6 separate regions of the Homo sapiens genome follow, and regions 2, 3, 4, 5 and 6 are each linked to region 1. The links are contacts of gene promoters, found by promoter capture Hi-C in blood cells and fetal thymus (Javierre and others, 2016). All regions are on one chromosome and are shown on one strand. Each heading gives the region's core, a stretch centred on a gene start or on the middle of the fragment in contact. The rest is flanking DNA. Distances are from core to core; before and after follow the strand shown. Region 1 holds the start of MEOX2 (mesenchyme homeobox 2). Region 2 overlaps CRPPA (CDP-L-ribitol pyrophosphorylase A). Region 3 has its middle 130 kb from the start of CRPPA-AS1. Region 4 has its middle 150 kb from the start of CRPPA-AS1. Region 5 overlaps AGMO (alkylglycerol monooxygenase). Region 6 overlaps AGMO (alkylglycerol monooxygenase).

What was found. Contacts are between HindIII fragments. The CHiCAGO score rates a contact against its expected background, and 5 or more counts as called.
Region 2: a fragment that was not itself captured here is called in contact with the fragment with the promoter of MEOX2 in region 1 in 1 of 17 cell types (endothelial precursors); the score reaches 5.3 in endothelial precursors.
Region 3: a contact is called between a fragment that was not itself captured here and the fragment with the promoter of MEOX2 in region 1, in 1 of 17 cell types (endothelial precursors). The highest score is 6.6, in endothelial precursors.
Region 4: a contact is called between a fragment that was not itself captured here and the fragment with the promoter of MEOX2 in region 1, in 2 of 17 cell types (endothelial precursors and M2 macrophages). The highest score is 5.8, in endothelial precursors.
Region 5: a contact is called between a fragment that was not itself captured here and the fragment with the promoter of MEOX2 in region 1, in 1 of 17 cell types (endothelial precursors). The highest score is 5.9, in endothelial precursors.
Region 6: a contact is called between a fragment that was not itself captured here and the fragment with the promoter of MEOX2 in region 1, in 3 of 17 cell types (megakaryocytes, endothelial precursors and M2 macrophages). The highest score is 6.3, in megakaryocytes.

What each region holds. Positions count from the first base shown.
Region 1 is chr7:15,684,877-15,688,474 of GRCh38, forward strand. It overlaps MEOX2 (mesenchyme homeobox 2), which reads right to left and starts at 1,807. Exons shown (of 3, transcript NM_005924.5): 1 at 1,010-1,807. The coding sequence starts at 1,526. LINC02587 (long intergenic non-protein coding RNA 2587) reads left to right here and starts at 3,502. Exons shown (of 2, transcript NR_110094.1): 1 at 3,502-3,576. RefSeq lists an enhancer at 171-1,003. The HindIII fragment of the contact is 6,486 bases long and covers 855-3,598 here.
Region 2 is chr7:16,095,349-16,098,946 of GRCh38, forward strand. The region is part of intron 9 of CRPPA (CDP-L-ribitol pyrophosphorylase A); the gene reads right to left. Among named protein-coding and RNA genes, the nearest start is that of CRPPA-AS1, 110 kb to the right of the region's middle. The HindIII fragment of the contact is 1,919 bases long and covers 756-2,674 here.
Region 3 is chr7:16,075,152-16,078,749 of GRCh38, forward strand. No RefSeq gene overlaps it. Among named protein-coding and RNA genes, the nearest start is that of CRPPA-AS1, 130 kb to the right of the region's middle. RefSeq lists enhancers at 1,452-2,651, 2,978-3,512. The HindIII fragment of the contact is 6,394 bases long and covers 1-3,598 here.
Region 4 is chr7:16,055,122-16,058,719 of GRCh38, forward strand. No RefSeq gene overlaps it. Among named protein-coding and RNA genes, the nearest start is that of CRPPA-AS1, 150 kb to the right of the region's middle. The HindIII fragment of the contact is 728 bases long and covers 1,252-1,979 here.
Region 5 is chr7:15,306,482-15,310,079 of GRCh38, forward strand. All of the region lies in intron 12 of AGMO (alkylglycerol monooxygenase), which reads right to left. All of the region lies in intron 1 of LOC124901592 (a long non-coding RNA gene), which reads left to right. Among named protein-coding and RNA genes, the nearest start is that of AGMO, 250 kb to the right of the region's middle. The HindIII fragment of the contact is 553 bases long and covers 1,542-2,094 here.
Region 6 is chr7:15,323,103-15,326,700 of GRCh38, forward strand. The region is part of intron 12 of AGMO (alkylglycerol monooxygenase); the gene reads right to left. Among named protein-coding and RNA genes, the nearest start is that of AGMO, 240 kb to the right of the region's middle. The HindIII fragment of the contact is 994 bases long and covers 1,348-2,341 here.

The DNA of each region.
Region 1 (3,598 bases), core at 557-3,056:
AAGAGCTTTGAAAACTTGTCTGGAAACTTTGAGTTTCTCTGGATTGCTACAATTTATTCGGCACGTTGTGCCTTCAAGCACCAGAGGTCAGGAAGGTTCCCCTTTTGCATGGCTGCTCAAATTATCCCCACTGAAATCAGCGCCTCCTGCGCGCACCCTTGCATACCCCTTTAGACACGTATCTAACTAACAGTACCCGAGTTGCTGTTGCTTCGCAGTATTTGTCTCTACTAATACCCACTTGGTAGAGGGATTTATTTTCCACTTTTGAAACTTAGGTTCTGTAATTAGCTTACACCACATGGACATGTACTATTAAGGTTCGTCTTTCTTCCAGTGTGAGCATCTATTTATTTACAATTCTCTGACACATTCCTTAAAATCTGAATTCCTAGATAATGTCTTCTTCCCCAATAAAGGGAAAATTTTACCATTTGAAATAGGGTGCTATTTAAAGAACGCTGAAATAAGAATGTTAAAAAAAAAAAACTGAAACTTTTTTTTCTCATGCGCTCTGCCAAGTTCCATTGCAAGTTCCAAACATTGTGCAATAATTTGGAAATCCAGTTAACGATGGGAAAAATCGAGCCACTCAGAGTCGGCAACTTGCAAGAGAAAAGTCAAGAAGCGGCACCCGCACGCACGCCTGCCCAACGGACGCTGCATCCCTGGGCGCACGCCCCTCCCTCCCCAGCGCTGGGATGGAAGGTCACGCTTCACAATCGATTTCACAGCCACTTGTCCTTTTTTATCAACCTTCTGGTAAACTAGTTTAGGACTTTGGAGGGCTTAGAGCTGCTGGCTGTATACGCATTGCTCTCGAATAAACACGTGTCCCCAAATATCAGGACCAAAGCTTCACCGCCGAATTTGGCCGCAGGAAGCCACAGAGGGCAACACATTCCCATCTTCCCTGCTGCCACCCTCCAGTGCGAGAATCTCCCCTAGTATCTCTCCGCCCCTTTTCCAGCCCGGCGCGCACTCTCGAGGGTGCCTGGCGCGCCCTTACCTGAGCTGTCGCTTTTCCTCTTGCCGCCGCTTCGCTTCTCCGCCTCCGCAGGTGACAGTGCCTGGCGGCCGTAGTCCCCCGGCGCGCACGCGGCCCCAGTCGGGGTGCTGGAGCCCAAGCTGGAAGAGTTGGAGCACAGGACGGGCGGGCTGCTCCCCAACTCTGGGGGCCCTCCAGAGTCGGGCTGGAGGCAGAGGCTGTGCCGAGCCGCACTCGGTGGGGAAGACATCTGCGGGAGGTGCCAGTTGGTTTGCAGAGCCTGGTGCTGCTGCTGCTGATGGTGGTGATGGTGGTGGTGGTGGTGGTGGTGGTGGTGCCCCCTGTGATGCTGGCTGGCAAACATGCCCTCTTCGTTGGGGTATCCCGCGATTATGCAAGATGAGGAAGAAGTAGAGAGCTCGGGGTAAGACATATGGTCAGATCTTCCATGGAGGGCGAGAGAGGATTGGGAGAACGGGTGCAAGCCTTGCGCCGTGGCGTGAGGGCTGCGCAGGCAGCCAAAGAGCGGGTGTTCCATAGCATGCAAGTTTCGGGTTCCAGGCAGAAGACTTCACGGCGGTTCCAAAGGCCACCACCCTCTGTCACTTTTTCACTGGAAACCGTGTGATTTTTTTTTTAACCTCCCAAAGCAATAGCGGTGCACTTCTGCAGAGCTCGGATAATCCCGGTCCTGAGCCCCAGCGGCCAGTCTCCTTTACATATGAACAGTCGGACCTGGAAGAGCTTCCCTGAGCTACTCAGATGTCAAGAGTGGGAGAGGTTGAAGCCAAAAGAAGGTGGTCCCAGAGAACTGCTTTCAGGGGGAAATGGCTCTGAGAAGTTATAAATAGAGTGTAACGTGAGCTGGGGGCTGGCTTAGGAGCCCAGAGTTGACCACATGCAAACTCCCTCCAAAACTCCCGCTCAGCCTGCGCCACGCGCTCCCAGTTCCACTTCCTATCTCCTGCTGGACGGACGTAGAGCGTCCACGCCCGCCCAGCACTGCCGGCTGCCAGGACTACAAGCGGCACGCCAACGTCTAAGTCCCGCCCGGGAGGGCAGCAGCTCTGCCCTCCAGACTCTGGAGGCCTGGGCGCGGCGCACACCACCCCCAACCTAGCACCCTGATTCCTACCTACTCACTTTCCTCTCGGGGAAACGTGACTTGTCAGTGTCATTTGGGAACTGTCACCTGCAGAAAAGCTAGGGATACGCCTATCCTTTCAGGAACACGAAAGAAGTAATAGGGTTAAAGGAAAAGACCAGAGCTAGTTTGGCGCACCCTCGAAGTTTTTCAAACTTTGCATCTTCCCGTGCCCCGGGCGCCGCAGCGCGCCTAGGTTTTCGCAGCTGGTTTCTGTCGGTGGGTTGTTAATAGGCTGGGACGCCAGATCTGAGGTTGCGGGGATGAGCACCATGGCCTGGAAAAGGCGGTTCTCAGTGCAGAAAGAAGACGGACCTGGTTGGGTGGGTGGGAGGAAGGCGTGAGTCTGAAAGGGTTGCAGATGCCTGCTCCCTGGCATCCTCACGTGCGATGCCAGGTGGAGGCTCCCTTCCCCCTCTTTCCCGGTCCCGCTCAATTTCCTAGCCACTTGTCCACCAAGAAGAACTTTTCCTGGGTCAAGAATATTTCCAAGCGATTGTGTCCCGGTCATATGAGATGTGTAGATTGCACGCGCATTTCTAGCCTTTCCCCTCAGGAGCTAGCCCAGATCTCCTCGGTTTCCTCCAGAAATCCACTCTCTTCTGCTCAAAAATAAATCCGCTAATGCATTCCTTACCACCAGGGTTCCATTTACTGAGAATTCTTACATTTCGATAGCTCCCAAAATTCACTCACCGTGGGCACTTGGTTACAATTTTGCACCCCTGAAAATAAAATAGAAAACTCGCCTCTAGTAAGCATGCGAGAGCGAGGGCAGGGCTTTGAAGCTGCTACTTGCTTGGCGGGCGACAGGGTCCGCTGGGGGCAGAGTCGTTTACACACAAGTGAGTGGCGCTGTAATGAGCAGGAGGAACAGTCATGTCCCATCTGCGACCTGTCGCATCAGGAGAATATCTGTAGTCACCTATTCTGCCCGGGGCCCCAAATGCGCCACCAGCAGTGTCGCCCCGTTTTTTCATTGTCTCAGGTGTCCAGAGGATGATGACCAGGTCTTTGAAGTTGTTAGTGGGATTAATGGGTACAGCAAACTGGGCTAGACATCTGGTTTGAATTAGGAAAAAGCATTGATTAATCTTTGAGAGGTGTCCCCAAAGCAGAACCTTTCCCCTCCTCTTCCAGTCCCCTTGCTTAAGCCTCACTATCTTCTTTTCTTTTAAGTCACACTGCAGAATAGTGGCTTCGCAATAACATCCGTGTGAAAGATCGAATTGTTTTCTATTGCTCAGAGGTGGGGTGGAGTGGGGGTTGATCAGGAATTCTGAGATTTGTAAGCGCTGCTTTCTTTAACGGAAATTGAGCTCTATTTTGAGGGAAATTAGTTTTGCAGACTTCGTTTAAAAAAAAAAAAAAACTAAATCTTTTGTTCACCAGCTGCTCAGCTTTTCAGTCTGGGTCTGAGCTGAAACCTGCTGCAAGTCTGACGGTAAGACTTTCTTTGCCGATAT
Region 2 (3,598 bases), core at 465-2,964, 410 kb after region 1:
CAGCTGAAGTTGTACAGCTCTCCATTTTTTTCATCTAAAAATGGGATAACATTTTTTGTGGGAACTTAGATAAGACATGTAAAGCACTGATACCTAGTAAATATTCAATAATAATAGCAGTTAGAATTATTACCTTTATGAAGTAAACTAATTTCAGCTATGATAGAGTAGGGTATATCACCCTCTCACCATATATAGCCATTAAATCTGGAAAACTTATGTGAGAATATTTTTTGCAGGTCTTGGACAGTAACATATGCATGTCTATAATCCTTGAAAGAAGAGCCTCCTAACATTCTCCCCAGCTGTCATGCTGAGAGCTTTTTTCCAATCTACAAAGAAGAGAAACAGAACCCAAGGAGAGCATAGCAATCTCTCTGGGTAGAAAAGACATAGATTAACAATTTAAAGCTGTCAAAGTGGCTTGTATTTCTGCAGGCAGCATGCCTGACAGGAAGGAATTGCTGAGAACTCCTAAAAATCTGCTAAAAATTCCTTCAGTCCTTGGCCAGCTCCTAACTGTGCATGCCCAAGGAGAAACTCAACGAGGCCTAGCAGAGAATAACTGCTGGAAAGTTGGAGAGCTGAGGAGAGATTTTTGAGGCCCCACTGTGCCAAGGAGCAGGAGGTTAAATCTGAGTCCAGCTAGAATGAAGACGCCTTGGTGAACACCCATGGCTTTCAGCTGGGATATCTGAAAAGCCATGACTACAGCCTGGGTATAAGGCAAAACTGAATCCGACCAGCCCTAAGAAAGCTTCAACAACGTCCACAGGATCAAATTGATTCAGCAATACAACTGCTTGCTAGAACAAATTTCATATTCCTTAGAGGACATTAAAATAATCTTGAGCTTTTATAATGTTTTGCACTCAAAGTGTGGTATCAAATATCACTAGATAGGCAAAGAAGCAGAAAGCAAAGATGCAGAAAAAAAAACACCCATAATCAGGAGAAAAAAATAATTTAAGCAGACCCAGAAATGAGACATACATTGGAATCATCATGCAAGGATTTCAAAATAACTATGCCTAAGACACTAAAAAATAGAACTAGAGATAAAAATGTTGATGAAAAATGGAAATTTTCAACATAGAATCTATAATAAAGAGAATTTTACAATTATAAAATGCTTGAAATTAAGAATTAATTGGACTAGTTTTATAATGAATAGGCAGAGCAGAACACAGTACAAGCAATCTTGAAGATAGTAAAAAAAAAATTTGTTTTATCATCTTGTTCACTTCATAACAGTGTCAATTTTGTTTTAGAAAATTTTGTTGCCCAGGGTAGAGTGCAGGTTGCCCAGGTTGATCTCAAACTCCTAGGCTTAAGCAATCCTTCTACCTCATCCTCCCAAAGTACCAGGCTTATAGGTGTGAACTATTACAGCCAGCTTCACTCTTTTTCTTGGTTACAACTATATTATAGCAAAAATAGAGACCAGCTAAAAAGGGGGAAAACAGTATACTCTTCAGTAGTCCGCTTTCTTAACATACTGGGCGGGAAAATATAAACATGTTGACAGAAGTTATTTTTGGATGATGGCTTTATGACAATATTATTTCTTCTTTCTGCTTTGCTATATTTTCAAAACCCCCACAATGAACACATTTTATTCTTGGAGGAAAAACAAATTATTTTAAAATTTAGTTTTAAGACTGTTAAATTCAGGGAGCTAAACTTGATTTGTTGTCATAGAAAATCAATAGTACTGAACGTTGTCCAAATTCCGGGAGCATTTCTCTCCATAAATATTTTCAAAATCTATACAAAGAAAACCTTTTTTGCTTGAAAATTCAAGGCTTCAGTAAAAGGCCCCTAAAGGAATCATATTAATAATTCACAAAGTCTTAGCTTTCTTCTTAGATATTAAGAAAACTATCTAAAAGTAATAACAAAAAAAGTGTACTTAATTTTACCCAGCATGTAACAATTGTTCACTGAGATCTTAAAGAGTTTCATAATAGCTGTGTTTTAAGACTATTAGAAGACAAAAACGCAATATAATATATGCATTTTTAATTTTCTAAATTATCAGACTGAATTATTTAGGATTAAAATTCACCATGAGTTTTACCTAGAAACTTATATTTAGCTATTTCTCTACCACCTATAATTTCAAGTTTAGGATGAAATACACCATGTTTGGGTGAAAGATGCACAAAAGAAGAGCTCTAATTACCATTATCTTTTAAACATACAAGGTAATTCTAAATTTAGTCATAGTAATGAAGTCGTGTCAATAAAGTCCCACATGCCAGTCTTTGTGTGCGTTTGTCTTTTTGTTGTTGACTTGGTTCTTTTGTGATGACTATATCCAGCATCAAGTGAAGTCTTGATGAAACTTTGATGGGACTCCTAAGCCTTTGGCAAACTTGTGGGAAATCAGGAAAAGCAGGAGATTTTCACAGAAGATTGGAAATGACAGTGGCACCTCTATAACTCATAGTGGCTCTTCAGTTACATCCTTCTCCACCTCCCACCTCAAAATTTGAGCAAGGAAAGGCTGAAGTAATGTAAATTACTAATATGTAGCACCTTGCAAGTGTATAAGTGGTCAACTTTATATGATGCCCATGTCCTCAAAAATCCTTACTTACTAACTGTCCCTTTCAATTTTCTCAAAGGATAACTTCGGGAGAAACTATTCCCAGAGTACTTAATATTGACAAGCTTTTTTAAAAAGTATATTTTGAAACAATAAATCCCATAATTGAACTACACACATATCAGCATTTGAATTTAAAAAGTGTAAACAAACTTATAGTAGGCTGTTAGAATCAAATTTATGTGGATTTGGTGGAATGCCATCTCAAAGAATAGCAGGAAAAGCTATGATGTAATTCTCCTCTAAATCTTTATGGACAAGCTGAAAGGAAATCTCTTGGAGATACCTATCCTCTATACACATCACTTCTAAAGAACACAATGTACTCTGCTAAAAGGAAAACTATAAAGTTAAAATGTATGCATATGTATTTAGGCTTTAGATGTCTCAAGAGATTACACAATGTTTCTTTAAGGGTAAACATTTACATTGTCTCAGCAAATTCCATACCTAAAACCTAATTCAATTTCCATGAGTTACAAAATCTCCTGAAATTCAGGTTGCTCATAGTTTGATATTAATACCCTTCTTCCATCCTTGTTTTGGAGAACTTATGCAAAAATTATTATTTAAATGTCACAAAATTTCAAACACTAAACAAAAATGTACTAGCTATATTTACATCTAGTCATAAATATACACATCCCTATCTCTGTACCATATACAATATACAAAAACCACAAGTGTTAGACTTACTAAACCTTCAACAGACTTGTTATAAGATCATTAATATCAAATCAAAATAATTTGAAGCTAAATTTTCTTTTTGTAAACATTTTGCTGATATGGAAGAAAAAACCTAACGGGGGCACACTGTCCCCTAGTGGAGATGAAAATAACTTTTCAGTGTATGTCAATTGCCAAAACTGCAGGAAAAAGCGATCACCTACTGATAGGGTGTGAGAAAAACAAAACAGCCTCCTCCGAATGAGAAACATTTTCCTCTTGCTCCTGTGAGTGATAACAAATGCCTCTCAAAAACTTAGA
Region 3 (3,598 bases), core at 571-3,070, 390 kb after region 1:
GATAGCACCACTGCACTGCAGCCTAGGAGACAGAGTAAAACCCTGTCTCTATTCAAACATGAACTTTTTTTTCTATAGGAAAGCTGTATTTAAGTGTTCATTTTAGAGTATCAGTTTACTGACCTATTCAGCTGATGGTATTTAAATGCAGCATAGTTAGTATCCCTGGACTTCTCTGTGCAAATCCGGCATATTCTCAGGAGTAGCCAACTGTGAGGTCTATTTCCATGAATTTCTGCATCTGGAGGCTTGACTGTGAATATGTGTAACTGCATCATCCCCCCTACACCATCACATACCTGACAGTCAGTGTGCTTATCAGTGATAGTATACAGACGGCAAAGGGGTCTTACAGTGCCATAATCTCATGGAAACATTTTAAAGTATCATTCTCTTAGTAGGTTGCAAGGTGGTTCAGTAGTTTTCTGTCATTCAAAAGCAACAGAAAGGTCTTGCTAACAAATATCATGCATCTCAGAGAAGAAACAGCAATAATGTGAACAAAGTGATTATGGTTAAAATGTACTCTCTCTTCTTAAGGTGGTCATCTGCAGGGGCCTGGAAAGGCTACACAAATTTATGCTTTTATTTTCTAAATATTATATCCATAATAAAGCTGGAAGAGTATTGACTCAGACTGCTTTTTGCTATAAAAGGAGCATTTCCAAATTGGAGAGAACATTCTGCAATGTATTTACATGTAAATATTTGATATACATTTAAATCCAGTTCTATTTACAAATTCTCAGTATCTTGATATCTAAACTCTCTCAATTAATTCCCACTTCCCCACTACAGATCAATTAACTATGCTTTCTCCTCAATCCCTTTAACCTACTTTATTCTCAATAATCTACATACTATGAGTCTGAACCTGGACACCAGTAGATATGGCCTTTCTATCACACTAGAAAAACTATGAGCAAAATCACTTCTACTACTTCGAGAACATATCCATATGTCATTTTAAACATCTACTTAATCTATCCAGAGACTATGGCAATCTTCAGGAAAAAGAAAGTTTATCTTTTGAAACCTCCTCCCTATGATTAGCTCTTACCACAGTTCTCCTATTTGCCATGGCCTGCCCTCCTTGCCATGCTACAGAAGTACAGTTCTTTAACCATGACCTTCTCTCCCTGCTATACAGGGGTAGGGAAGGATTAGAAAAGTAATTCTCAAGGGAATAGGTAGCACAAGGAAGGGAATGGTAGGCAGTTTGCATGCTTAGTATTATAATTTTACATATTGAAAAAATATTCTCATAAGAACTTCAGGAAGCAAACTTCAAAACTTCTCTTTGCTGGTGTATTAGTTTATTATTATTATTATTGCCATAACAAATTACCACAAACCTGGTGGCTTAAAACAATACAAATTTAATTAAATATCTATCATACTATTTGAAATATACCTACTGCACCACTGGGCCGTTGTGAAAAACTATAGAGAAAGCAATTGAATACCATTTGGGTGGTTTTCTTTCATATTTTTGATGGTTATTAACTCATTTCATTTTCTCCTTGTGCTAAACTAAAAATTTCTCAGAGAGACATTATAAATAAAATACAGTGGTCATAAATGTGAGTGACTACAGAAATCAGGCAATAATGAGTGAAGAAGGCAGTGTGTGTTACCTCAAGGGGTAGATGGGCCTGCGGATAATAAGAGTTTGTGCCTGTATTAGTCCATTCTCACACTGCTGTAAGAACTGCCTGAGACTGGATAATTTATAAAGGAAAGAGGCTTAATTGACTCACAGTCAGCATGGCTGGGGAGGCCTCAGGAAACTTACAATCATGGCGGAAAGCAAAGCAGACACCTCCTTCAGAAGGCGGCAAGAAGGAGAAGCGCTGAGTGAAATGGGAAAGAACCCCTTATAAAACCGTCAATCTCGTGAGAACTCACTATCGTGAGAACAGACTGGGGGGAACCACGCCTGTGACTCAATTGCCTCCACCTGGTCTGTGATTCAATTGCCTCCACCTGGGCTATGATTCAATTGCCTCCACCTGGGCTATGATTCAATTGCCTCCACCTGGTCTCTCCCTTGACCTGTAGGGATTATGGGGATTACAATTCAAGATGAGATTTGGATGGGGACAAAAAACCTGACCATATCAGTGCCGCTTCTTAAAAGGCTAGCTACTCTTCAGGTTGAGGTCACTTGCCTTGAAGGAAAAAGATCCCCTGGCCGGGCGCATTGGCACATGCCTGTAATCCCAGCAGTTTGAGAGGCAAAGGTAGGAGGGTCGCTTGAAACCAGCCTGGCGACACGGCAAAACCTTGTCTCTATAAAAAATACAAAAATTAGCCAGGTGTAATGACAGGCTCCTGTAGTCCCAGACACTTGGGAGCCTGAGGTGGGAGGATCATTTGAGCTCCAGGAGGTTGAGGCTTCAGAGAGCTGAGATCACACCAGTGCACTCCAGCCTGTGTGACAGAACAGACAGTGTTTCAGTAAAAGAAAAAGGCCCGTCATTGCTAGATGGCTGCATTTTTATGAAATGCCCCAATTTGCAAATGTAAACACCTATTTTGTATTTTTAACACAGATCTGACAACAGATCTGTGGGCTAAATCCAGCTGGAGGGCTTCTAGTTCCTATAAAGCTAAATGTTACAAACTTCTGTCACTCAACACAATAATGCTCTTATATGAGAGAGAGAAAAGACATAGTCACGTATTAAGAGTTGTACTAACCAGCACTATTACTTGAGTTAATATTTTCAAGCATTTCTCCATTTTTATTAGTCATAAACTACTATTACTATCAAAGTGTAAGTCAAATCCTTTTGAAAACAATCTTAACATGAAACAGAGGCAAGATTTTGTGATTATCACAGTAAGATCATTCTGGTCACTGCTGAGAGCCTGAACATCATGAGACATTGATAGTAAGCAAATGCTGAATGCCTTGCTTTAAATGCCAATAAAGCACAAGAATAAGCATAATTCACAACTTTTGTGACAACATCTGAAAATCACACATACATAACACATCAATGTATGCGTATGTTTAGATGTATACAGATTTTGTTTCCCTGCTGAATGCATCTCAGTGGACATGCCGAAGTCCAAAGACAAAAAACCCATTCTACCACCAGGTGGAGCTTAGTTTCCATTAAAGCAGCAGATACATGAAGAGGATTTCTAGTGTTTGTTTGAATTCTTTGTGTCCCTCAGGAAAGACCTGAAGAAAAAAGGTGAACTTCAAAGGAGAGTGTGTATTTTAAAAGCCTGTCACAAACGCCAGTTGCCACAGGGCTTTAAGTATTTTTCATCAGTACTCATTTGATCAGGTGCTGGGGGCCATTCATGAATGGCTTGACAACTGACTTCCTTCCTTTCTGTCCTTTTCCCTTTCTTTGTATGAGAATGTTAAATTCCCATACATTTAAGTGCCCAACTTTAAATAAAAATCACAGATTATCACAATAACAGAGCCTAAGAAGTAAAATTACCAAAACAAATCAGCTATATTATGTAAATATTGACTCTAATTCACAATATTATGTAAATATTGTGAATTTTTACATATTATGTAAATATTTACATATTTTACACAGTATTTTACAAATATTTACATATTTTACAT
Region 4 (3,598 bases), core at 366-2,865, 370 kb after region 1:
TACATTGAAAATTACAAAATAATGCATAAAAAAAGCACTAAATACATGAAAAGATATACTATTGCGTGAGTCAGAAGACTCAGTATTGTTAAAATGTCAATTCTGTCAGTTTGATTTTTAAATTCAACTCAATTTGAATTTGATAGGCTTTTTAAAATAAAAATTAATAAGTTGATTTTGAGATTTATATGCAAATACAATAATAAACCTTTGAAAATGAAGAACAAGTTTGAATGACTTATACTACATGATTTCTAGACTTGCTTTAATGGTACAATAACCAAGACAACACAGTATTGGTATAAGATCAACGGAAGAGAAGAGTCTAGAAATGGACCTCTACACATGTGGTTAATTTTTAACAAATATACCAAGATAATGCAATATTAAAAGGTGAAAGATTTATGTGTTCTGAAGAGAAACCAGAGAATCCAAGATAATGCAATAGGAAAAGGGTAATAAAAGAAAAACTTTTGACAAATTAAATTTAGCAGAGTCTTAACTGAGAAAAAAAAAATGATTTGCAAATCAGGCAGCTCTCAGAACCAGAACATGCTTAGAGAAACTGGGGTTGCTGCATGGTTGCATAATATTTCTGAGCAGAAAAAGAAAAGTGACGTACAGAAAATGGAAGTGAGATACAGAAACTGCTGATTTGGTTACAGCTCAGCAGTTGCTTTATTTGAACACAGTTTGAACAGTTGCTTGTCTGTGATTGGCTGAGGCACAGCTGCTGTGGTTGACTGAGGCTCACCTATTTTTACAGACACATACTCCTAAGTTGGGTTTTCAGTTTATTTATGTGCTAAGTTAGGTTGCAATTCATGAGAATTGAAGTATGCAAGTAAAAAGGCTTTCTCAGGCCAAATTTAGTTTAACAATAGTTGTATTAGTCCATTTTCACACTGCGATAAAGAACTGCCTGAGTAATTTATAAAGGGTAATTTGTAAAGGAAAGAGGTTTAATTAACTCACAGTTCAGCATGGCTAGGGAGGCCTCAGGAAACTTACAGTGATGGTGGAAGGTGAAGGGGAAGCAAGGCACCTTCTTCACAAGGTGGCAGGAAGAAGTGCCAAGCAAAGGGGAAAGAGCCCCTTATATCAGATCTTGTGAGCGCTCTCTCACTATCACAAGAACAGCATGGGGGAAACTGCCGCCATGATTCAATTACCTCCACCTGATCTCTCCCTGGACACATGGGGATTATTGGGATTACAACAATTCAAGTTGAGATTTGGGTGGGAACACCAAGCTTAACTGTATCACTAGTCTTTCTAACAAAAGTGTGCTGAACAATTGAATATATAAGGGAAAAATTCACCGTAACCCTTATCCTATGGCATATACAAAATTTATTTTGAAAAACATTATCAAAATAAAAGTTAAATATAAAACTTCTAAAGAAAATATAGGGAAAGACCTTCACAAGCTGTGGTCAGGAAAAGATTCCTTGGAGCAGAAAAAGTAAAAACAGTAACAGAAAAATTAATTGATAATTGAATTTTAAAATATTTATTCATCACTAGACATCATCAAAAAAATAAAAGGTAAGCCGTAGACTTGGAAAAAAATGTAAAACATATAATTAGTAAAAGACTTGTATGCAGAATATATAAAGAATATAAGCAACATGATAGAAAATAAGAAAAACTATCTGGACATGTTATACACACACGCACACACACACACACACACACACACACACACACACAAAATGAGATATCACTATCATCCTCTGGAATGGCTAAAATTATAAAGATTGGTCATACAAAAAATTAATGAGGATGTAAAGCAGCTGGGACTCTCATACATTTCTAATGGGAATGTGAAATGGTATAACCACTTTGGAAAACGTTCTGGTACTTTCTGATAAAGTTAAACATAAACAAATCACCCAGAAATCTCACTGCTTCATATTTACCCAAGAAAAATGAAAACATACATCCCCACCAAAGATTCGTAAGCCAACGTTTATAGAAGCTTTACTTACAGGAGCCAAAAATGGGAAACAACGCAAATGTCCACTCTTCATTTAATGTATAATAAATTATGTTTTATCTATGTAATGGAATGCTATATAGCAACAAGATGGAATGAACTACTAATATGAACAATGTGGTTGAATCTCAAAAGCACTCTATGTGAAAGAAGCAGACATAGAAGGCTACAGACTTCATGATACCATTTTACATAAAATTTTAGAAAAGATACAAGTGTAGTGACAGAAGAAGATCAGTGTTTTCCCAGGGGCTGGATTGGAGAAAGGGTTGGTGACAAAGCAGCATGAGAGAATGGAATTGTTGGAAATGGAAATTATCTATATCTTGATGCAGTGGTGATTATATGACTATACACATTTTCAAACTCATTAATTTATGCTTTTAACATTGATGACTATACTCCATGCAATTATACTTCAACAAAACCAGTATTTTTAAACCAGTGGCAAAAGAATAATCAGGTGAAAGCAAGTCAACCCCTTAACATGATTCCATTTTGAGCCAATTTAAATGGAAAAAAAAATGAAGAAATCATTAAATACCAAGCATTAGAGAATATGTGGCTAAATGCAGTATTTTGTGCATTACAAGTGGAAGTATCTTCTGGTTGCAATACATTAGAAAACATTTTTGTATTAACTTTTGAAATTGGATAACCGTATACTCCATAGCCAATAATTTTACCATATTGAGCATATTCAAGTTAACTCTTACAAATATGAATCATAAAACATGTTTAACAATATTCATTTTAGCACTCTTTGTAATATAAAATAATGAAACTATTAAATGTATATCACCAGGATGACAAGTTATAGTATATTCACACAAGGGAGAATTATACTATAGTAAAAATCAGTTTATCAAAGCCACATGTGCCAACATTGAATGAATGTTAGAAACATAAGAAAAATAGTCTCAAAAGATTATATACTGTGTGATACCCTTTTTATAAAACTCAAAAACAAAACTGATATTAGTTTTCTAATCCTTGGTTATTGTTGTGAGAGTTCATTATATTAATAATATAAATATATTAATATATGGATCAGTGATGGCAATGTCATAAAACAAGAATTATAATTATTTTAACTCTGTGTTCCTAGAAGTTATTTTAAAATAAACATATAAATATGCAACTAGAAAGAAAAATGAATAAACAGATGAAAGAAAATAATACAGCAGAAATATATCTTTTGTCTCTCAATAGGACACAGAAGTGTAAATAGGAAATAGTAACTGGAAATGTTTCAGAAAAAGATGAAAAAAATTACTGAAACATAATGAACTAAAAATATGAAGCATTGAGCTAGACAGCATTAAGAAAGAATCCCTTTGAGACTGTTCTAAAATTCTTTTTCTTACAAGTAGGTTATGACATTTGATGCTTTTAGAATTAAATGAGAGTATATATTTCCAGCACAATTTTTGGTTTTGTATAATTATTATTTATAATAATCATAATTTAAAAAAATTTAAGATTATACTATCGAGTAATCTAAGAGACAAAATTTAAAGCATTCTGTGCTTAAGATTCTAATGCAGCATGTAAATCTTACCAATTTTGAAAATGCAAAAGGTACAAATGAACAAAGTT
Region 5 (3,598 bases), core at 568-3,067, 380 kb before region 1:
AGCTGTGAGACAGTCACTCAAACTTAAAAGTTCTCCAAAGTTCTCCTTGGCCTGGAGCCCAATTTCACTTATAACAGAATATGACTGTGTAAAAAAAAAAAAGCATTACAAAATATGGCAATTTGTGTTACCTTGCTAAAAAGTTAATATGGTTTATGGCACTATTAAGGATTGTTAATGCTTCAAATAGTTAGATTTTAATGTTTAGAATTAGCACAATTTAAGTTTTCACCTACTATTTTAGATTGTACTAGTTCTTATAGGCTGAGGAATATGTCCCTAAACTAAGATTTCTACTTTATTATGCTAAGTATGCCACATTGGAAAGGGCTGTTGGAGAAACATAAATTATTCAGTTAGTGTATAAAATATTATTACAATAAGTTATAATCATAACAGAGGTAATGAACTCTTTGTATAAAATAGTTTGCAATATTAAATGCATACGTTACAATCATGAGAAATAATCATTAAAGCATACTGAATTTTGGTGAATTTTAATATAGAAAGTTGTACAAAGATCTACACTTAAAATTATTCAAAAACGAAATAATTATAAAGTGATTCCAAAAAATAAGTTTCCATTTGTAATTTTGCAGTTCACCCATCACTAATAGGACAAATCTACTAGTAATGATGATGACATTCATATATTACAATATCTTATTATCCAGTCTAGTTATCTAGTTGTTAACAGTCTTGTGAGAGGTGAGGACATAATTTATATTCCCTTATGACAGACTGTTCTGCGGCCATAAAACGTGGGAATCCTTGTTTGACATGACTTGTCTTCAAAAGCCAAGCCCATCTATTTGGAAGAAACCTTGAATCACCAATTTTATCACATGGTAAAAAGTTAAAATAGGCATTTACCATTACTTATAAATATAGTTCAAAATATTTAATCTAAAAGTGACAGTGCCAGTGGTGAATAAAACTTTATTTAGATGGGCTAATCAATTAAACTCTAAAAGAACAGGACTCTAGTTGATTTGTTTTAAAACTAGTAAGGATGTTCTGAAATAAATCAGTAAAGTATACTAGTTTTTTTTTTCTTATGAAGCCTATAAGAAGGACACTATAATTACCTAATCATATAATTGTATTAAAGCAAGGAACAATAAAACATTTCCCAAGGTGATTGCTTCTATGCATATAGTTTCAATTACTATCTTCAAACTGACACTCAAATTTACACCTCCAGCTCTCACCTAGTTTCCTAAGTTACAGATTTGCAACTGAGATTTGGATATCTCACAGTAAACATGCCCACAAACAAACTCAGTATCTCTCCTTTCAGATCTTTGCCTTTTCCTGGGTCTCCATCTCAGTGCAAATATGGACTCACCAATTCAGAAATTTACAAGACTAAATAAGACCCATACCTCCTTCATATCCCACCTCTGAGCAATCAGTAAACAAGTGTGATGGAGTTTTTATTTTATGTCTCTCTCTTGTCAATCCTATTAGTTCCTAACGCCTAATGGTTTGACCTAACTCTATTCTCTCCCCACTTTCTAAATACCTGGAATTTCCCCACAAGCTTCAATACCTCCAGGCTTGCTGGTCCTCACTACACCCCTTCAGTTTTCCATCCATTACCCACAGGCTGCCAGGAAACATTTCCAAAAGAGCAAATCTATTTATGTCATTTCTTTATTTAAAGTATGTCTGTTCTAATTTCAGAATGGAGTAAATTCTGCTTATCCTGTATGTTCATCCCTTAACAATCAGACTTTTACCCCTCACACAAGCACCATCAATCCAAATCCTTGGTTACTCTCTGAATATAAATAATTTGTTATAAATTTGCATATTTTTTCCTATTTAAAAATTTATCCTTGTTCCTTTCACTACTGACCTTACCCCCACACTTCTTTTTTAAGGTTTTGCTCATTCACCTCATTTGAGAAGACTTTTCTGACCTGCCAATGTCAGATTTCACCTCTATACTCTTACAGCGTTTGCTTACTATCTACCTACATCATGGTGTTTTTCACTATGCACAGTAACTGTTTGTTGTCTCATTTGCTTGTATTAACTCATTTGCTTGTCATATTTGCTTGTCTCATTTGTTTGTCTCAATTTACTGTAAGCTTTCTAAAAACAAGATTTATGCCTTTAAATTATTTTTCACCAGAGCAATGTTTCACCAAAATGTTAAACAATGAAACCACTTAAAACTTTTCTGTAACCAAAGCTCTTGGATTTTCCTGTATCTGTTGATATATTATTACAGCACATATAATGAAAATATAACAACTAATGTGTTATGTTTTATAATTCTCAAAGGCCTTCACATAACTCTTGGAAGCCACCAGTGTTTTTTACATATTGTGGATAAAGAAACAAAGTTTCGCAATGGTTAAATAATTTACCTAAACACATTCAGTCAATGTATGGTAAAACAGATTCAATCCAATTTGTTAGACTTCAAAGTCCAGACTTGTGGTTGGTCAAATGGAGTGATTTGGTTTGAATTCACAACTTAAACGCTTACTATTTGTTAATGGTAAGCAACTTTACTACTCATGCAATTATCCCAAGTATTCAGGCACTGGGCTGAAACCATTTGCTCCATCAGCCACATCAAGCAATAGTTCATCAGCAATAGTTCCTTAGACTAGTTATTCATTAAACACTCAGTATGAAAGAGACATGGCCTTTATAGGAAGACAAGCCCTGCTAAAAATCCTTTGGGGGAACATCTTAATTGCAACTACAGGCACACGTAATGAAGAACTATCGTTATCCTTACTGAGCAGTTTTACAGACAGGCAAGCTGAGTAGGGCCAACATTTTTTTTCCATAGGAGTACATCTCCAAATTTTTGAGTAGGTACCAATAAAAAAGATGATCAGCAGAGGGGAAATACTTTATACATTCTTAACAGCTCTCTGTGTTGTGAGAATCTTCAAATGTATCAAAAGAGTTATAAAACAAACTTTCTGGGTGGGATAAAACTAAGCCAACTTTGAAGTCCAGTGCCCTATTGAAATGTACTTTTCTCCATTTCCCCTAAGCGTCAACATAAGATCTCATCTAGCCAATGTAAGTCAGGTGTTGTTTTCATTGAATTTTATTTTTAAAGAGATATGCAAAATGTTAGAAAAGACAGGTCCCTAATTATTAGTTTTCTATATAATGTAGTAATATTGTAGGTGCATATATATGTATGTGTAGATTTGTGTATATATCCTCTCTAAAATAGACTATTAGAGAGAAAATAACCTTAGTTATTATTATATTTATTCCTCATCATTTTAGAGAGAATACAAATAAAGCCCAGAGAAGTTAACTGGCTTGCCTAATGTCCCTCAATCAAAGATCATTATGCCATTTAATAAACATTGTTCCCCATCTTTAATAAATATGTTATCTATTGGAAAGTATACTGGCTCCAGGTTCAGCAGAAGTAAGGTTTAATTTTCCCAATATCATCTTTGCAGGTTTCCAAATTAGCACTATATACATTTATATCCCTTCAGCTTCATATAAATTTTATGATGAAAAAATATATCATATTCTGTCTGGAAGGAAATATTTGCTCATCATGGTGTGTCACAGGATTCCACTCCCAAGCTCCCCACATGCTTAG
Region 6 (3,598 bases), core at 595-3,094, 360 kb before region 1:
AGTTAAAGATCAGTGCAATCCTTGGAGTAATAAGACTTCTTTATAATTTCCAATATAAAGAGATGATAAGCGAATGATCTTGTTTCTCACAGTGCAGATGAAGAGCAAGATAATTTTGCTTATTGAATAATCACCATGAGCAGTTACAATTTGCCCTAAGAAAACATTTCCAATAGTAATTAATTCTGACTGTTTAACTTTTTGTTTGTATATTTATATTGTTTATTTTTGTTAATACATTGATATAAAAGAATTGGAAGAAGTCAGACAAAGAAAAAAATAACCAGCATAGAGAGATCCCATCACCTTCCTTTCAAGGGGGATAAAAGATAAAGTGTGAGGAGAAATACAGTGTATACAATAAATATGTCATATGGAGATGGTAGGAGGGATATTGTCAACATTATACTTTTCATTTGAGTTTTGTCTTACAATTTCATGCTACAGAAGACTGCTAAAATTTTATCTAGGTAGGTCACTAAAACACTCCCAATTTCTTATAATATTTAGACAGAAAATAACGCGCTGATTCTCATATGATTCCAAGCTGTCTCCCGAGCTTGCAGTGCATGACTTTTGCCAGAGCAAAGGGCTATGGGATGGAAAAGACTGCCTCCTGACTCTGGGCTTCAGAGCAGCTTTGCAGCTGTTAACAAGGAAAGCCTCGTGGTATTGTGCTAGATGATTTCATGACTTTCTAATCATTTTTAAATTGTGAAATTATCAAAACAGACACGAGATGTTGCCAAATCTGTGTTTCTTTGCTTTCAGCTTGTTTTAACTGCAAGCAAGGGTTTGAAACGTCAATGTTCTTGCTACTACCTCAGAGTAAGCCACATTTAAAACTCAAGCTTGCCGCAGACATTTCTATTTTGAAACTGTGGCTTTCTTTAAAACTGTAATTTGTATTAAAGTGCATATTTATGTAATTGTTCTATATACTACCATATGTTGCTGTAACAATGTATTAGAGATACAAGCGTAGTAAAAATAAGACTACTTTAAGCCAATGTTTCCATCAGACAATCATCAGTATTACTCCAGCGCAGCAACCCAACACTCAGCTAATACAAACTGGCCTTCAGACCAGGCTCTGCTCACTCACTTTCACAAAGAGGCAGTAATAATAATGGTGTGTGCCATAGTTGAGACAGAAAACTGCATCAGTATCTCAGACTTTTAGACGTTGGTATCAGGCAACCCTGTCCCCACGTGTTTGTCTCCCAATCCTGTAAGTTCCAGATCCCAAGGTCAGCTCTCCTAGTTGCTGATGTTCTATCTTTTAAAGCGCCCATCTTGGGTTATTCCTACTATTACAGTAGGATCTCTCAAGGCATTTTCTTTATAAGCTTTGGTTTCTTGTTCTTATTTAGATGTCCTGAAGTGCCTTCTTGATTTCTTTTTTTCTCTGGCTTCAGACCCCTACATGGCCAGAGGCCCCAGGGTTTTGCCTTTCTTCTCCCCCTCATCTCCCTCACTCCTGAGGTCTGTCCTCTAATGTAGTGGCCCCCAACCTTTTTGACACCAGGAACATGTTTCATGGAAGGCAATTTTCCCACAGATGGTGGGGGGCGGTGTCGGGGAGAAGATACGGTTTCAGGAAGAAACTGTTCCACCTCAGATCATCAGGCATTAGATTCTCACAAGGACTGCGCAATCTAGATCCCTCTGATGTGCATTTCACAATAGAGTTCGAGCTCCCATGAGAATCTAATGTCACCACTGATCTGACAGGAGGCAGAGCCCAGGCAGTAATGCTTATTTGCCTGCTGCTCACCTCCTGCTGTGTGGTCCGGTTCCTAATAGGCCACCAACCAGTCCGTGGTTGGGGAGTTGGGGACCCCAGCTCTAGTGAATCTCTGTAGGCCACTCCAAACCAAAGTAAAATTAAAAATTAAAAAAAAATTTTTGAGTTTAAAAAATTCAAATACCTAACATTTTTAACATGCTTTGAAAACCCCTCAGGAAGCCCTGTAATTGTTTCTTATTGGTAAGTAACATTTGAATAAAAAGAACTTTGTTTATTATACCTGATTTTAATTTCACGTTTTGAGAAATATATACTGGATAGATAGATTTAGTTTCATGCAGTCATGTTTAAATTATATATCCAAATTAACTTGCATTATATATCTGCATCGTGACTTTACTTGGAAGGCATTAAAGGCTAATAAATAGTATTCACTATATCAAATATGTACTTTCACACATATCTAAATAATTATATATTAGCATTTCTACATTTAATAATTTTATTTGTAAAATTTAATACATAATATTATCTGCAATTATTTAATCAGTGAGCGTTCAAGGGCATGTCAGATTAAGATTAACCTTAAAAAGCTTATTTTTAATTATTTTCCGTTGTTTTTTAAACAAACTTCTCTCACAAAATTTACATCCAAGCTAACTGGTGAAGAATAAAACATTACACACCTATACATGCACACATACAAAAGGACTCTATTTCAACAGCACATCAGGCCTTTAAAATATAAACAATCAAAAAGGAAAATGGTTGAAACAGAAAAAATAACTCAAAACTTTAAAAGAAATGTCATGTAAAAAGCAAAATGCTTAAACTGAAAATATAGCATTGTACCTTATCAGCTCACATTTTACTTTTGAGTCATCCAAATTTTGTCATCCAATTATTTTTGAACCCTGTATATTAATTTTTCATTAGGATTATCTTAATAGGAAGTTTTATTATTTTTGCTTTTATACAACATTTTACTATAGCAATTTATGACATCTTGACTTGGTTGTTCGCAATTTGTTTCTGTCCCCTTTAATGACAAAAAGAAGAGGAAGAAGACGGAGGAGGAGGAGGAGAGGGAGAGCAAGAGGAAGAAACAAACCAAAGAATAAAAAAAGTTTATAAATGAGCAGTCACTGCAGTAACTAAGCCAAGTTTTATAAAGCAGAGGAAATATTCTCATTAGAAGCAGTGCTAAATTAAATAATAGATACAGGTTTTTTTTAAACTGGGATATTACTCTTAGAAAAAATATAAAACTTAATTTATGATCTCCTCAAGACACACATTCTATTTATTAAATACATTTGAATTAAAGGGGGGGTTAAGGAAAATGATAAAACTTACAGTTAACTTTTACCACTAGATGGAGCCCAGGCATCTATATGGCAAAACTCCCACTGTGTTTACATTTGGCTGTATTTGATTACTTACTGAAAATGACATATAATCAGTTTAACCTGAAAGGGGTAAGGGATGATAGGTGTTTTTTAGAATATAGCGTCTTGGCAAAATGTAAATTGATGAAAAGTGAACATGACTTCTCTTTAGAATCCTCCCTCCTGAATACAGATCTTCCATCACATAAAATACACAGACCTCTTAACTTTTGTGCCTGCCTCTTCGCATTCTACCTATTTTGGGAAGGCCTCTCAAGGATGCTTACTAATGCTCTTAAGGTTATTCCAGCTCCTCTTGCCTTACTCTTTTCTGAACCCACTGATTAATGAAATATTCATTCTTGGTGTTGACCATATATTTCTCTTACGTGTGCTTACAGTAATTTCACATGAAGAAGTGGCTTTCTCTCCCCATGGCAGAATTATACCATAATACCTA